Linked DNA regions of Homo sapiens: region 2 is linked to region 1. Evidence: promoter capture Hi-C in human tissues and cell types (Jung and others, 2019). All regions are on one chromosome and are shown on one strand. The core of a region is centred on a gene start or on the middle of the fragment in contact, and the rest is flanking DNA. Distances in the headings are between cores, read along the strand shown.

Region 1 (6,814 bases), core at 4,315-6,814:
TGTGTCTGATGAACTGGCATAGAACTATACACACACAGTGCACCAATCATATGCTGTCGTTACCTATGATGTAACCATTGAGGGAAATTGGGTAATGGGTATATGGGACTTCTCAGTACTATTTTTTTTTTTTTTTTGAGACAGAGTCTCACTCTGTTGCCCAGGCTGGGGCACAGTAGTGCAATCTCAGCTCACAGCAACCTCCATCTCCCGGGTTCAAACAATTCCCTGCCTCAGCCTCCTGAGTAGCTGGGATTACAGGCGCCCGCCACCACGCCCGGCTAATTTTTGTATTTTTTTAGTAGAGACCAGGTTTCACTATCATGGCCAGGCTGGTCTTGAATTCCTGACCTTGTGATCCACCCGCCTCGGCCTCCCAAAGTGCTGGGATTACAGGTGTGAGCCACCACACCCAGACAGTACTATTTTTATAACTTCCTATGACTATATAATTATCTCAAAATAAAAAAGTTAAAAAATTAACTGTATACATTTGAGATGAAAAATTTCCTAAGCTCTCTTTCCCATTCAGAACCAATGGAAAGGAATGTTTCCCTGAGGACATGGAATTATACACACAGATATCTGAGCTAAGTGGTCACAGAGTGGGGCCCACAGAATGGTCCCACCATCTGTTCTGCTCATGCTGTGCTGCTCTCTTTAGCTCAGCCATCTCTTCTTCAGTGACAGAGCTCAGGGCCAGGTGACCATGATAGGCCCCACCCACAGCAGCAAAAGGCCAGGAGGCCTGGCTGTGTTCCCAGTAGCACAGGCACTGGGAGGGCTGCACACACACCCCTGCTTCACAGGGAAACTGTTGTTTCTTGGTAACTGAGGGGATTGCAGAGGCAGGATTGCCTAGAGGTTAGGAGCATGGCTGTGGAGTCAAATGGCCTGGTGTGATTCCTGACACTGCCACCAACAGCTGTGTGCCTTTGGCCAGGTGATAACTGCCCTGTGTCACTGCCCCCTCAGAGTTGTTGTAGGGAGTACATTGGTGGACCTGAAGGACTGGTGACCAGACTTTCTGGGAAAGTGTTCCCCAGATTCCACCTGGCTCAGAGATACGGATTTCACAGACTTTAGCATCTACCATAAGGCCAGCACCATGCTAGACATTTCTTTTTCAAGGTACTCCTTTTGGCAAACCCACTTGAGTTCCATTCTTCAGATAAAGAGCCAAGATGCACTGAAATTACATGACCTTCTCAGAGACTCCCACCCAAAGAGAGGCACAGCTGGGCTGAACTCCCATCTCCCTCTGATGGGCGAGCCCAGCTCCTTCCCCCTGCAGGGACCCCTTAGAGCAGGGCCTCCTCACCATCACTGAGCAAACCTGCATAAGTGGCAGTGAACAAAACTGACACCTGAATCATGCACCTCAACTACAACACCCACATTTGAAAGGAAACCTTCCTTGCCCCCCTTGGAGGAAGTGAGCTCAGTTTTGGGAGAGGCTGGGGTGTGTATCAAGCACCACTCTCAGTAAAGCTACAGTGGTAGCCATGGTAGGAGTGATTTTTAATATTTCACATACAAAAAAAAACCTGCTTTAAGAATTGAGAACCAGGAAAAATTGTTCTTCCACGTGAATGGCTGTGCTTCCTTCTCTCGGGGACTGTGGGTGGCTTACCCATGGACTCCTTTGAACTGGAAGCCAGTGTCATCCCTGTAAACATGTTAGTCTCCTGTGAGACTGTTTTCACAACCTTTTAAAATTATGATTTTTATTTCCATTATACCAAGTTATCAGTTGCATGAATCTTAATCAAAGGTGCCTCTAATTCTTTAAATTAGGCCCAGCAACAACAGAAGGAAAGAAAAAATCCTCTTAGCCTAGCATTCTGGAGACAGAATTATATATGTTTATTTGTATCAAGTTTTTTCTGTTATATCTTCCAATTCAAAAATAAAATATTAAAAGGAAGTTTTAGATAAACGGAATCATGAACCCATAACAGGAATATATTCATTTTAATATATTCTCCTCCATCATTATCCACTTGCATGAATATTTACTTAAATAATTGTGAGCAAATTTAAAATACCAATTTAGAATCTACTTGATATCATTTACCTATAAATGTTACATTTTAAATTTCACATGGGTTCCCAATCATGATTTTTAAGTTTTCTCATATTTCACAAAGTTCAACATCTCACATTTACAAATTAACTGATTGGCTCTGCAAAGTCACTATACAGCTTACAGTGCTCAGTCCCTATCCCGGGCTTACATCCTTGAGGTTCCCATGAACACAAAACGTGCCTCTGGAAGAGTCAGGGTACCAAGTCTATCATTTTGCTTCTCTGTATAAATGGAACCATAAATGTGTCCCAAAGCTACTTTGTAGTGGAAGCATAATTTGTTACCCTTTTGCACTCTCTGCAGTGACTCCCTCCAGGGAATGTATCAGGGCCAGTGGGTGTGACACAATAATTGTACCCCAATGCGGGTTCAGATTGCCCACCTGAGCCCCATATCTCTGGAGCCAGACAGAAGTCAGTCATGCCCTGCTTGCACTGGGGACAGTTGAGTCCCCCAGCCTGAGCCAGGGACAACAGGCTGACTTCTGTGGTCCTTCCTTATTTCTCTTAAAAATCTCTCTTTCATGTTTCCTCTCTTTGGTGTTTCCCTCTGTCACCATTTTAAAAAAATGTATCTTCTGTGTTCTTTCCTATTTAGTCAGCATTCTCTTTACTTCATTTCTTTGAACACATTTTGTATTTTTTTTTTTTTTTTTTGAGACAGGGTCTTATTCTGTTGCCAGGCTGGAGTGCAGCCTCCACCTCCTGGGCTCAAGCAATTCTCATGCTTCAGCCTCCTGAGTGGCTGGGACTACAGGACCATGTTTTATTCAGTTGTTTAGCATTTTAAACTCAAGGCTAAAAATATATCCACTTTCATTCTTCTCCTAATCATTCCAAGTTTTCCCAATTCCCTCTTCTCTTTGAGCCATTAGAGCATAACAGCTAAGAGCACTGGCTCTGGGGCTGACTGCTGGGGTTCAAACCCGGTGCCATTTCCCAGGGGTGTCACTGTGGGCAAGTCACCTAACCTCTGTATGTGTTGGCTCCCACCTATGTGTTCTAAAACTGGTGCCTGGGATTGGTTTTAATCAGGTGTGGCAAAGCGTGCAGACACAGCAATGATTGTCATGAAGGAAGAAGTTTATACTCACAGATCCCTATAAACAAGAGGCCTGGCTCCCCACGCAGGGCCACATGGAGAGCACCAAGGGCAGTCAGGAGGCAGAAGGGGCGGGGCAGCATAGGCCTGAGCCTTTATTGTGTTTTCTGTAAGAAACGAAGAGGGCAGAACAGGGTAAGCCTTTTAGAATGGGCTAGTTTAAATGGTTCTGGCTGGCTTTGAGGCATAGGGGCCGTCTCCAGTTGTCTGGTACCTGGCCCTGGGTTGATTTAGGGCAGGAGGAATATTAACTTGCTGTGTGAGAGTTTGGTAAAGGAGATGATTGTGGGTGTGGGCTGTAGCTTGGTTCGTTTGCATAAAAGGCACTCTCCTTTGCTATCTGGCTAGGCCTGGGAAGGAGAGTCTCTCCCCAGTCAGCAAGATCACAAATGCCAGAGCATCAAGAATACAGAAAATTAAAAATATACAGAGAATACAACTGGCCCTGTGATGGATGCCAGACAAATTCAGAATCTAAGAGAACACGGAGCACCCTGGCAAGGTGGCCAGTAATAGGACTTACCTCATCTAGCCGTTGTGAGGATTAAATAGATGAGCCCCTGTAAATTGTTTAGACGGGTGCCTTGCCTGCAGAAGGCGCCATGAAAGGTGTGCTGTTACTTCTCCCCTTGCTACGCCCCCTTTACTTCCCATGCTGTGTCGTCCCTCCCTCTCTGTCCTACTCTCAGGCTGCCCAACTCCTTATGGATCCCTCTTCTCAGGTTTCCCCAGCTGCCTGCTTTAATCTACTTTCTCCTAGACAATGTCCGGACCATTCTCTCACCTGCATCTTATCTTTTGCTTAGACTATTACGCAGTTACCATTTCACATCTCTCAAATTTTACATCTCTTAACTCTTGTGACATTTAGATTTGTCTTCATCTATTGTTGCAATGTGTCTTTCTCTGCCGCTTTTCTGGTAGCACCCCGCCACCACCACCCCCCAACACACCTTCCTGTTCCTCTATTTTTTTTGTTGTTGTTGTTGAGATGGAGTCTCGCACTGTCGCCCAGGCTGGAGTGCAGTAGCGCAATCTCAGCTCACTGCAACCTCCACCTCCCAGCTTCAAGCAATTCTCCTGCCTCAGCCTCCCAAGTAGCTGGGATTACAGGCACCCGCCACCACGCCCAGCTAATTTGTTGTATTTTTAGTAGAGACAGGGTTTCACTATGTTGGCCAAGCTGGTCTCAAACTCCTGACCTGGTGATCCACCCGCCTCGGCCTCCCCAAGTGCTGGGATTACGGGCATGAGCCACTGTGCCTGGCCTCTGTTCCTCTATTTCAAATTCATTCATTCACTCATTCGGCAATTTGCTTCAGTTTCCTTATGTTTGCCTCTTTCTCATCTGTCCTCTTTTCCATTTTATTCCTACTCTGTCTCAGTCCACTTACAGTTATATTTCCTATCTGTGTATTTTATAATATTTGTGCTTTAATACTTTTAAAATATCCTTTATTTTACTGTTTCTTCTCTTCCCTTGTCATATTTTAAAGTGTTTTATTTCTCAGCCTTCTATATCTTTGCATTAATTCTGTTCCTCTACAATAGAGTCCGTTCCAAGCTTTCTGTCTTCCTGTGTCCTTCCACGGCTCTGGCTCTCTCTGCATTATTTCCTATTTATGGAATACAAATCTTTTACCCTTGTATTTTTCTCACTCCTCTCCACACACCCCTTGACTCGCCTTTCCCCACGCCCCTCTAGGTGCTTCTTGGTCTTTGCTTTTCCTTTTTATTTCCTCACCATGTCAATTTGTATTTTTCCTCTCTCTTACTACTGTATCATAAATGGGACTCCCGACAACCACTCCCGTGTGTCTGCCTGGAGGCAGCAGTTTTAAGAAGGGTTGGCCACTGAGCCTCACAGAGGGACCCCTGTCTTATGCTGCAGCAAAGTACCATAGACTGGGTGGCTTACAAACAAATTTATTTCTCACAATTTTGGAGGAGAGAAGTCCAAGAGTCACCTGTCAGCACGGTCAGGTTCTGGTGTGGGCCTTCTTCCAGGTTGCAGCTGACACCTTCTCATGTCCTCGCATGATATGAACAGGGCTAGAGAGCGTTCTGGGGTCTCTTTTATAAGGTCACTGGTCCCATCATAAGGACTCTGCCTGTGACCCACTTACCTCCCAAAGGCCCCCCACCTCCAATCACACCAAGGGTTAGAATTTCAACGTAGGAATTTTGAGAGGACACAAACACCCAGGCTATGACACGGTCTTTAGAAAATCCCAGAATGAGTTGTCAGGTTCTTGGGAGATCTGTAACTGTGGGAAAGCGTCACATCCCAGGGAAAGCCACCAGCTGGGAGAGCCATCCCAGACAAGGCCTGCTCCCTTTGGGCGGACCTCTGTGGAGAAGCCAGCTTGGCACGTTCTTTCTCCTCCACTGCAAAGTTAAATGCGAGAAGGTAGAAACCCAGAGGCCATGCTGGCGCTGAGAGATGAGCCCCACTCACCAGATTCAAGATCCCAAGGTAGGCACAGACACAGGGCAAGCAGACTCCAATTCCAGGAGTTTGGAACTTAAATAGAGTCATAGAGACACTCAGATCTGATCAAAGTGAGTGCACTCGGTGACATTTCCTAAAGGGTTCTGACAACTTCATCTGCAACTGGGGCTGCCCCAGGTTCTGCACCTCCAGCTCACAGCGCACAGGTGTTGCTGAGCTCCTCTAAACAATGAACAGCACTAACAAGTGGGTTTAGGTAGGGATGCCTGCCAGCTGTGTGGATCAGGCCCCAGGGGAGAGGCCGGGGTGGAGGTCAGCCCGGGAGTCTGCACACCTGCAGCTTGTTTCTACCGCACACAGATGGGCATGGGTGAAAATCTTTACAAGTGCTGCAGACTTTGGCAAAGCCTATAAATTCAGAGCAGCCCGGAGAGGAGAAAGGAAAGTGGATGTGGGTTCAGGCCGCATGAAATGGAGATCCGATTGCCTGACTTAGCTTTGAAGCGAATCTTCTCTTTCCTGGACCTGTTCGGCTTGCTGCAGGTTTCCCAGGTGAACAAGGTAAAGGCCTTCCACCTCCCACTGCCCCCCAAGCCCGCTGCTTCTCTCGACCAGTTTGAGCACCACTTTGCAGAATAGCAGAGGGTTACACTGAGGCTTTGGGGGTTAGCATTCTTCATACTGAGGGCCTCATATTCTGTTAAACGAAAAGGACAAGCTGATATCCAGGAGTTGTGCTGACTAAACAGTCCTTGAGGCTCCCATTTCAAGCCCTAGGAAATCAACACTTCTTCCTGTGAATTCATGGGAATACCCAGTGCCTGTATTAGCAGTGATAGGTCTCTGTTGTTACCATTTCCTTATCTCCCCACACTGAGAGTGCTTTGAGAGCTGGAATCCCATCTGATTAACCTGTGCGGGCCCAGCTCCCAGAACAAATAATAGCAGAGGATTACCCTTGCTCTCTGATGTAACTGATTGCCTGCTTGTCTCTTCCTTTCTCTCCCATAGCATTGGAATAGGATTGCAGACAGTGATTACCTGTGGAGGTAAGGGAAGGGAAAGGGCAAGGAGGGAAGGGGAGAGGAGATCATCTGACTGCGCACCCATGCTGTGTCCCAAGGCCTGTGTGGCTGTGTTGTGAGATATACACAGGAAAGTTAGTGTGAGTA
Region 2 (6,814 bases), core at 3,192-5,691, 150 kb after region 1:
GAGCTGGCGAGAGTGAACACCTAAGAGCTGCGCCGGAAGAAACTGGGGCTGGGCAACCTCCGCGCAGCCCATGCAGATGCAGTCTGGTCAAGTGACTCTTAGCAGCAGGTCAGGAGCCACGCACAACCTTGTCGCCGACTGTCAACAAAGAGCCAGGTGGGCTGGGGTGGGGGCTCTGGGTTCCGCCAGCCATGTGTGGCTTCAAGAATATCCCTGCATGGCATGGTGACTATCACACACACTGGAGGGCCTGGAATGACCCCCTCTGCAGAGAGCAGTGCCTGCCTAGTGGTCACAGTGGATGAACATGGTCACTGGTGAGCAGGCACCGTGACAAGGGCTTCCTCTGGAGGTCTTGAGATGTCCACGTTCTGTACAATAAAAACACAGAGCGTTCACTCCATGGCAGGAATAGATGAGATGCCTGCTGTCTGCCGTCCTCATCACTGTGGTTCATCAGGCTTCACATTCTCACTGTAGCAGCCACAGCCGCAAGACTCTAGACCACAAGCTTCCCTAAGAATACATGGCCAAGAGCTTCGTGCCACATAGCGGGTGGATGGACAATAGAACAAAGGTGCGGTGGAGGATGCCACCTCGTTTCCTGCTCCACTGCAGCCAGGTCAGGCAATACCCAAAGCAAGGCCACTCCCACCTCCTATCTCAGGGCTGAGTCAATTGAGGAGGAACCCCTGGCTTGGGGATTTTATCCTCATCTGTGGGGCAGGGAAGGGGTTCAACTCCTGGGGGTGCCTCCTTCCTAGTTTAAAGTGTTGGCACGCAGGTGTCAGAGGTGCCCCAGAAGCCTATGGGCATTTCCTGGTCTGCAGCCTGGTCTGTCCCCTCAGAACTGGGGTACAGGGCCTCCTGAAGCCCTCAGCTATAGAAGGACCCCACCAAACTGCAGAGCTCAGTCCCATCCTTGGCCTGTCGGGCTCAGGGAGTCTCAGGCCTGAGGAATAGGGAATCTGAAACTTCCCTTAGCTCTCTGAGGCTGTCTTATGTGCCCCAGAGCCTGGTGGCCCCTCCTCCCAGCTGTGGGCCCCGGAACCATCACCTGCAGGAGCAGGTCACTGATGACCTGAGCTGCTGCCCCATGCAACATGACATGCCCAGATCTTCAGGGAGAGAGACATGGCCCCCATGGCCCACAGCCTGGGCTCATAGGACCGGCCCCTGGAATTGTAGGGGCAGGTATAATTCTTACTGCTGGGCAGGCTTCCTGAGGCGCCCCTTTTCCACCACAGCCTGCCCCAATGGATGGGCCAGAAGGGAGCCATCCAGGAACCTGGGGTTAGTAGCGGTTTGCCTCTCAGAAGCACCCACCCATAGTGGGCAGAATGACCGCCAGCCACACTATGGTGATGGACTGGTAGGGTCAGCTCCCAAGGGCTGCCAGGCCCAGGGACCTCTCTTACCATCACCCTGCCAACCCAGGGGCCTCTCTTACCATCACTCTGTCAGCGCTGGGGGCCCAGTGCCATCTGGGCCTTCCTTGGCCCAAAGGATGCCCGTTGGGAGGTACGTTCCCCTGTGACTTGTGGGTACCAAATTGGGCCTGGGCTGAACTTGGCCAAGACATGCACGAACTATCAGAGCAATGGGAAGAGAGGCCTGCAGGGTAACTGGTCCTGCTTGGGGGCAGTGGTGTTGGGAAGGGACAGGACACATCTACACACCTGTGCTGTGAGGTCCAAGGCCAGATGTCCTGGTCCAGCCCAAGACGTGCATCCTCAGCAGGGACCCAGAGCCCAAGCAGGCCCCATCATGGATGGCAAGAGGCATGACTGAGGCCCAAGAGCCTTCTCCGTGCAGTGGCCTCCAGGAACTGGGACCGGGGCTCCCAGAAGTGTAGGTCCTATCCTTGGCCCCAGTGGGAGAGGGAGCCAACATTGTGGAGGGACCCCACATGGGACTAAGAGTGGTTCTGAGCTACACTCTGAGGAGCTTCTACCTTCCACAAGGCACTTGGGGAGCACAGGTGGTGACTGCTTTTCTGGACCAAGGTCTCCACCCCATGCTGAGGCCCCTTCAGTATCTGCATGGCCCTTTCCCCAAAAGTACATGATCCCATTTTAATTTTTAAAGGTGCTGGGGTTAGGAAAGGGGCTCATGAGGCCTCGGCTGCAGGGATGGGGAGTGGGAAGAGTGCCCACCTGCCCTCAGAAGGCCAGAAGCCTCATTCTTAGCCTCCAGCCTCATTCTCACTGAGCCCAAGGGCCCCCTTGACTTAGACCTCCAAGTTGCTGCTTGGGAGCCCTGTGGCTCCTCAAGTCCTGGGGCTCCAACCACACCCAAGTTCAGGCACTCCTGAGCCTGGTGGCCCAGAGTCAGGGATTTCCCCATCCCCAGGGCAGGTGCCTTGGGAAGGCCTGATGCAGGCCCCACCCAGAGCCAGGGCCCCGCCCTGCTGATGGGACAACAGTCTTGGCAGAAGACTCAAGCTCCCTCTGGCAGGTGCCGCAGCTGGGCCTGGCCCTGGAGGATGTGCAGTCTGGACACCCCCACATCAGGAACACCCCGCTACCCCAGCAGTGACCCCATTGCTACCTGAGGCCTGTCCCGGTGCGTGTTCACAGCAGCCACGTTCAGGAATATGGACTCCACTTTACAACCTGCCAAAGGGAAGATGCAAATCCATCCCCACTCCTGAAAGGCAGCTGAGCTGCAGATGCTAGAAACTTCTCTTGGAGGGGGGTCTGGGCGTGTGGAATGGAGCAGCCATCTCAGCCTCACTCTAGTTCTTCCACTTTAGGCAGCTCTGGGGAGCCCCGGGAGGAAGGATGAGACACGCTGTCAGACCCACGCATATCTATGTGACGGCCCAGACAGGGCCACACAGAGGCCCCAGGCTCCCCAACCCCAGGACCGAGAGGGATCGGGGGAACAGCAGGCCTAAGTTGAGGTTACTGACTCTCAAAGTCTTCAGGGCCCCCAAACCACCCACATTCCAACTCTACCATATAAGGCCCAGTCAACCGTGTGCCAGGTGCACAGTGCAATGGGGGATGAGGCCATTGTCACACACTGGAGTGACATCAGCTGCCACTGGGCTTCACAGCCATTCCCCCAAGAGCACCTGTGTTAAAGGTGAAGAGCTAAGACCTGAGAGATGAAGAAGTTGCCTGAAGTCTCTGCTGGTATAGCAAGAGGCAGGGTGGGGACTCACACTGCCCTGCACCCAGAATAAAGTCCAGGCCCTGAGGACCAAGGGGCCTTGTGGGGGTTCAGAAAAATCAGTAGAAAAGCCCCTCATGCAGGTAGGCAATGGTTAAGCAAAGTCACTGGGGAGGTCTTCTGTGGCCACATAAACTTTTTCACAACAAACTTTTTTTTTTTTTTTGAGACAGGGTCTCGCTCTGTCGCCCAGGCTGGAGTGCAGTGGTGCGATCTCGGCTCACTGCAAGTTCCGCCTCCCGGGTTCATGCCATTCTCCTGCCTCAGCCTCCCAAGTAGCTGGGACTACAGGTGCCCGCCACTACGCCCAGCTAATTTTTTTGTATTTTTAGTAGAGATGGGGTTTCACCATGTTAGCCAGGAGGGTCTCTATCTCTTGACCTCGTGATCCACCCACCTCGGCCTCCCAAAGTGCTGGGATTACAGGCATGAGCCACCGCACCCAGCCCCAGAACAAACTTTTTAAAAGCAAATTAGGGCCGCAGATGGTAGCTCATGATGGTAGCTCACGCCTGTAATCCCAGCACTTTGGGAGGCCGAGGCAGGTAGATCACCTAAGGTCAGGAGTTCGAGACCAGCCTGACAACATGGTGACACTCTGTCTCTACTAAAAATACAAAAATTAGCTGGGCATGGTGGCAGGCGCCTGTAATCCTAGCTACTCGGGAGGCAGAGGCAAGAGAATCATCTGAACCCGGGAGGTGGAGGTTGTAGTGAGCCTAGATCACGCCATTGCACTCCAGCCTGGGTGACAAAGCGAGACTCCGTCTCAAAGAAAAAAAGCAAATTGGGAAAGGTGGTGGGGTAGTAGGTGGAGGAATGGGCTCCTAACACAATTTTCAAGGAATTCGGAGAAAATCATGGAACTGTGCAGAGATCCAAGGTCATGGCTACCCATGGTCAATGTGCAGGAAGCTTCCTTACCATATGCCACAGGAGTCAGCTTCAGGACTGTGTGCAGCGGACACTTGAGGTAGGGCAGCTGTTCTGTAGACACAGAGGGGGATGGCTAGCACACCAGAAATGCCTGGTGACAGTGCCTACCTTCTCACACAACCTTCCCACCTCCCCCGGGGCACAGCCCACACCTGCTGCCTTGTCGAGGAAGTAGGCCAGCAGGCAGCGCATCACAGCCTGGTGGCAGATGACCAGCACATTCTCTTGCCTCTCCAGCTCCATGATGACAGGCTCCAGTCTCTGGACCAGGTCCTCGTAGGACTGCAAGGGCAAGCAGAGAGGGGTCCCTCAGGCCTGGCTCCGGGGGAGGGACAGACACATCCTGGACACTGGGCCACCTTCCACTCCTGCAGCTACTCACCATTCTGGGAAGCTGTGGCTGGGCCTCCTCCAGCCTAGCCTTCTGAGGCCATGGGGGTGGGCAGCTGAGGAAAGGGGCCACCTTTCCCACCTCAGGGCTAGGTCCTGGTAGGATTGAGAGCGCAGAGCTAGGCCTCAGGCTCCATCCCAGGGTCCACCTCAGTGCCCACCCATGGGGCTCTGCACTGAATCCTCAGCTATAGAATTCATGTGACTGGTGGAGAAGACCTCGCCTGCTTCCAGCCCACAGCAAACAGAGTGCACTGACAAGAGCGAAGGGGAAGAGAGCAAAGACCTGGAACTTTCTGGAGTGTGACTCATCAGAAACAGCTGGGGTCCCCAGGAACTATCCTCAGTCTACCTGCCCAGTATCTTCCCCCTATGCCTGCCGTGATGTACGGTTTAGGCCCCTGCTGGGCCTCTCAACCTGGCAGGTTTAGAGATTTTCATCAGTTTCATCCTTCTGCACACAATGAGTGGTCCTTCAAAAATGGCCTCCAGCAGTCAGAACTGAACGTGCCCCAAGCTTTGATTAGGAAGCAAAAATGACACGCTGATTTGTGCCAGTTCCTGGTAGTTCTGAGAAAATCCTAGACCGGTTCTTTTGGTAACATGAATTTCTCAACCAATTCTCCTCACTGTATTCTCATGTTTGAGCAGCCAGCTGCTTTGTTTCTCCTGACCGTTATCTGGGTTGGTTCTAAATCTGAACTTGGCCTAACATAATGTGGGGAATAATTAATGTTCCCAAGAGCTATACTATCCTGAGGATGGTACAGTGTAGAGACCTGTCAGCCTGGCTTCTGGGTGGAGGTGCTTCTACATGTGTATATATATGTGTACATATGTGTGTTGACGGGGTGTATTTTTATTTGGCCCCTGCCCCAGGCCACCTCCTGGAAGTGGAAGGAGATGCCTCAGTCAAAGGTGACCCTCAGTTTCTGACCTGGGGCCTGGGCTGAACTGTGTCAGAGAAGGTGACAAGTGCAGTGGCTTGTGGTAGCCAACTCATGTGTGGAAGGTCTCCCTGGGTCTGGTGCCAGGGCTGGGGGTGGTGCCTGGAGCCACAGGAAGGACAGGATGGGCTCAGCCTGTGACAAGAGGAAGCATCCAAAGGAAGGATGAGGCCCGAGACAGGGACTCGAGTGAGCTGAGACCCGAGTCCCAGGCCTGCCATGGTCTCCCCAACTCCCCAGCCATTTGAGCGCCCCGGAAAGGGCTGACAACTCGCTGGGAAAGGAGCTGGCCTGGGAATGCCAGGGGACCGCACACTGTCTACAGGGGTCCCAGGAAAGCCTAACTCCGCAGATCCCCCACCTCAGGCCCTGCCCTTCCGAATTCTCCACCCCTGGGAAGGGGAAAGACAAGAATGGAGAGCAGGGAGCCAAAGGTCTCCAGGTTGAAGGCCTGCCCTACATGGCACTGCCCACTCCACACCTGAGGAAGGGACTAAGGCCTGGGCTGCATAGCTGGGAAGGGGTGGAGATGAACCACACACCCAGGCTGGCAGGCCTCTGAGACCAGGCCCCTTCTGCTACCCACGCAGCCCCTGCAGAGCCCCACAGGCCCTCAGCCACAGGTGGTACTCCCAGGCGGGCAGTAGGTGGCTGGGACTAAGCCCCAAATCCCACCTACCTCCCCTTTAGGGTACCGGTACCGGTACTTGTCCTGGTCCCGCAGGGCGAACTCCAGTGGATAATTATCCTGAATTTCCTCGTAGGTCATTTCCTCACAGACGCCCTAGGGAGATACCACAGTCATCACACCTCCTACAGGCCCAGAAGATGAGCCTTGGGGACATGTGGGGTGAGGCAGCATCAAGCAGAAGAGACCAAGTTCACGGGCATTTCCTGGGTGAAGGGAACAGAAACCTGTCTAAGGAGGGGAGGACCTCTAGGAACACTGATCATTGGTGGTTCCTTGCTTGTAAAAAGCTACCAGGATGGTCTTGTCCACCTATCCATCACCCATCCAATACACACAGAGATGCTATGTGTTTTTTCTTTTCTGTGCTGTGGAAATAGTACTTGTGAGTGTAGGTTGTTATGCAAACTATGAAGGAAAACTTCACTTGTGTTATTTGGGATACACACACACACACAGAGCATAGATCATCTTCTACAAATGCCATTAAAAAAAAAAAGCTGGCTGGGCGCGATGGCTCACGCCTGTAATCCCAGCACTTTGGGAGGCTGAGGCAGGCGGATCACTTGAGGTCAGGAGTTCAAGACCAGCCTGGCCAACATGGTGGAGGAGGCAGTGGTTGCAGTGGGCTGAGATTGTGCCACTGCACTCCAGCCTGGGCAACAGAGAGAGACTC

What was found. Contacts are between HindIII fragments. The study calls those that stand out against the background at their distance.
Region 2: a fragment that was not itself captured here is called in contact with the fragment with the promoter of FBXW12 in region 1 in 3 of the 25 tissues and cell types used here (bladder, heart right ventricle and lymphoblastoid cells).

What each region holds. Positions count from the first base shown.
Region 1 is chr3:48,366,655-48,373,468 of GRCh38, forward strand. It overlaps FBXW12 (F-box and WD repeat domain containing 12), which reads left to right and starts at 5,565. Exons shown (of 11, transcript NM_207102.2): 1 at 5,565-5,666; 2 at 6,030-6,203; 3 at 6,654-6,691. The coding sequence starts at 6,114. The HindIII fragment of the contact is 16,322 bases long and covers 888-6,814 here.
Region 2 is chr3:48,519,436-48,526,249 of GRCh38, forward strand. It overlaps PFKFB4 (6-phosphofructo-2-kinase/fructose-2,6-biphosphatase 4), which reads right to left. Exons shown (of 14, transcript NM_004567.4): 10 at 6,130-6,234; 11 at 4,266-4,395; 12 at 4,102-4,164; 13 at 2,551-2,615; 14 at 1-371. The coding sequence ends at 312. Among named protein-coding and RNA genes, the nearest start is that of SHISA5, 19 kb to the left of the region's middle. The HindIII fragment of the contact is 4,280 bases long and covers 2,302-6,581 here.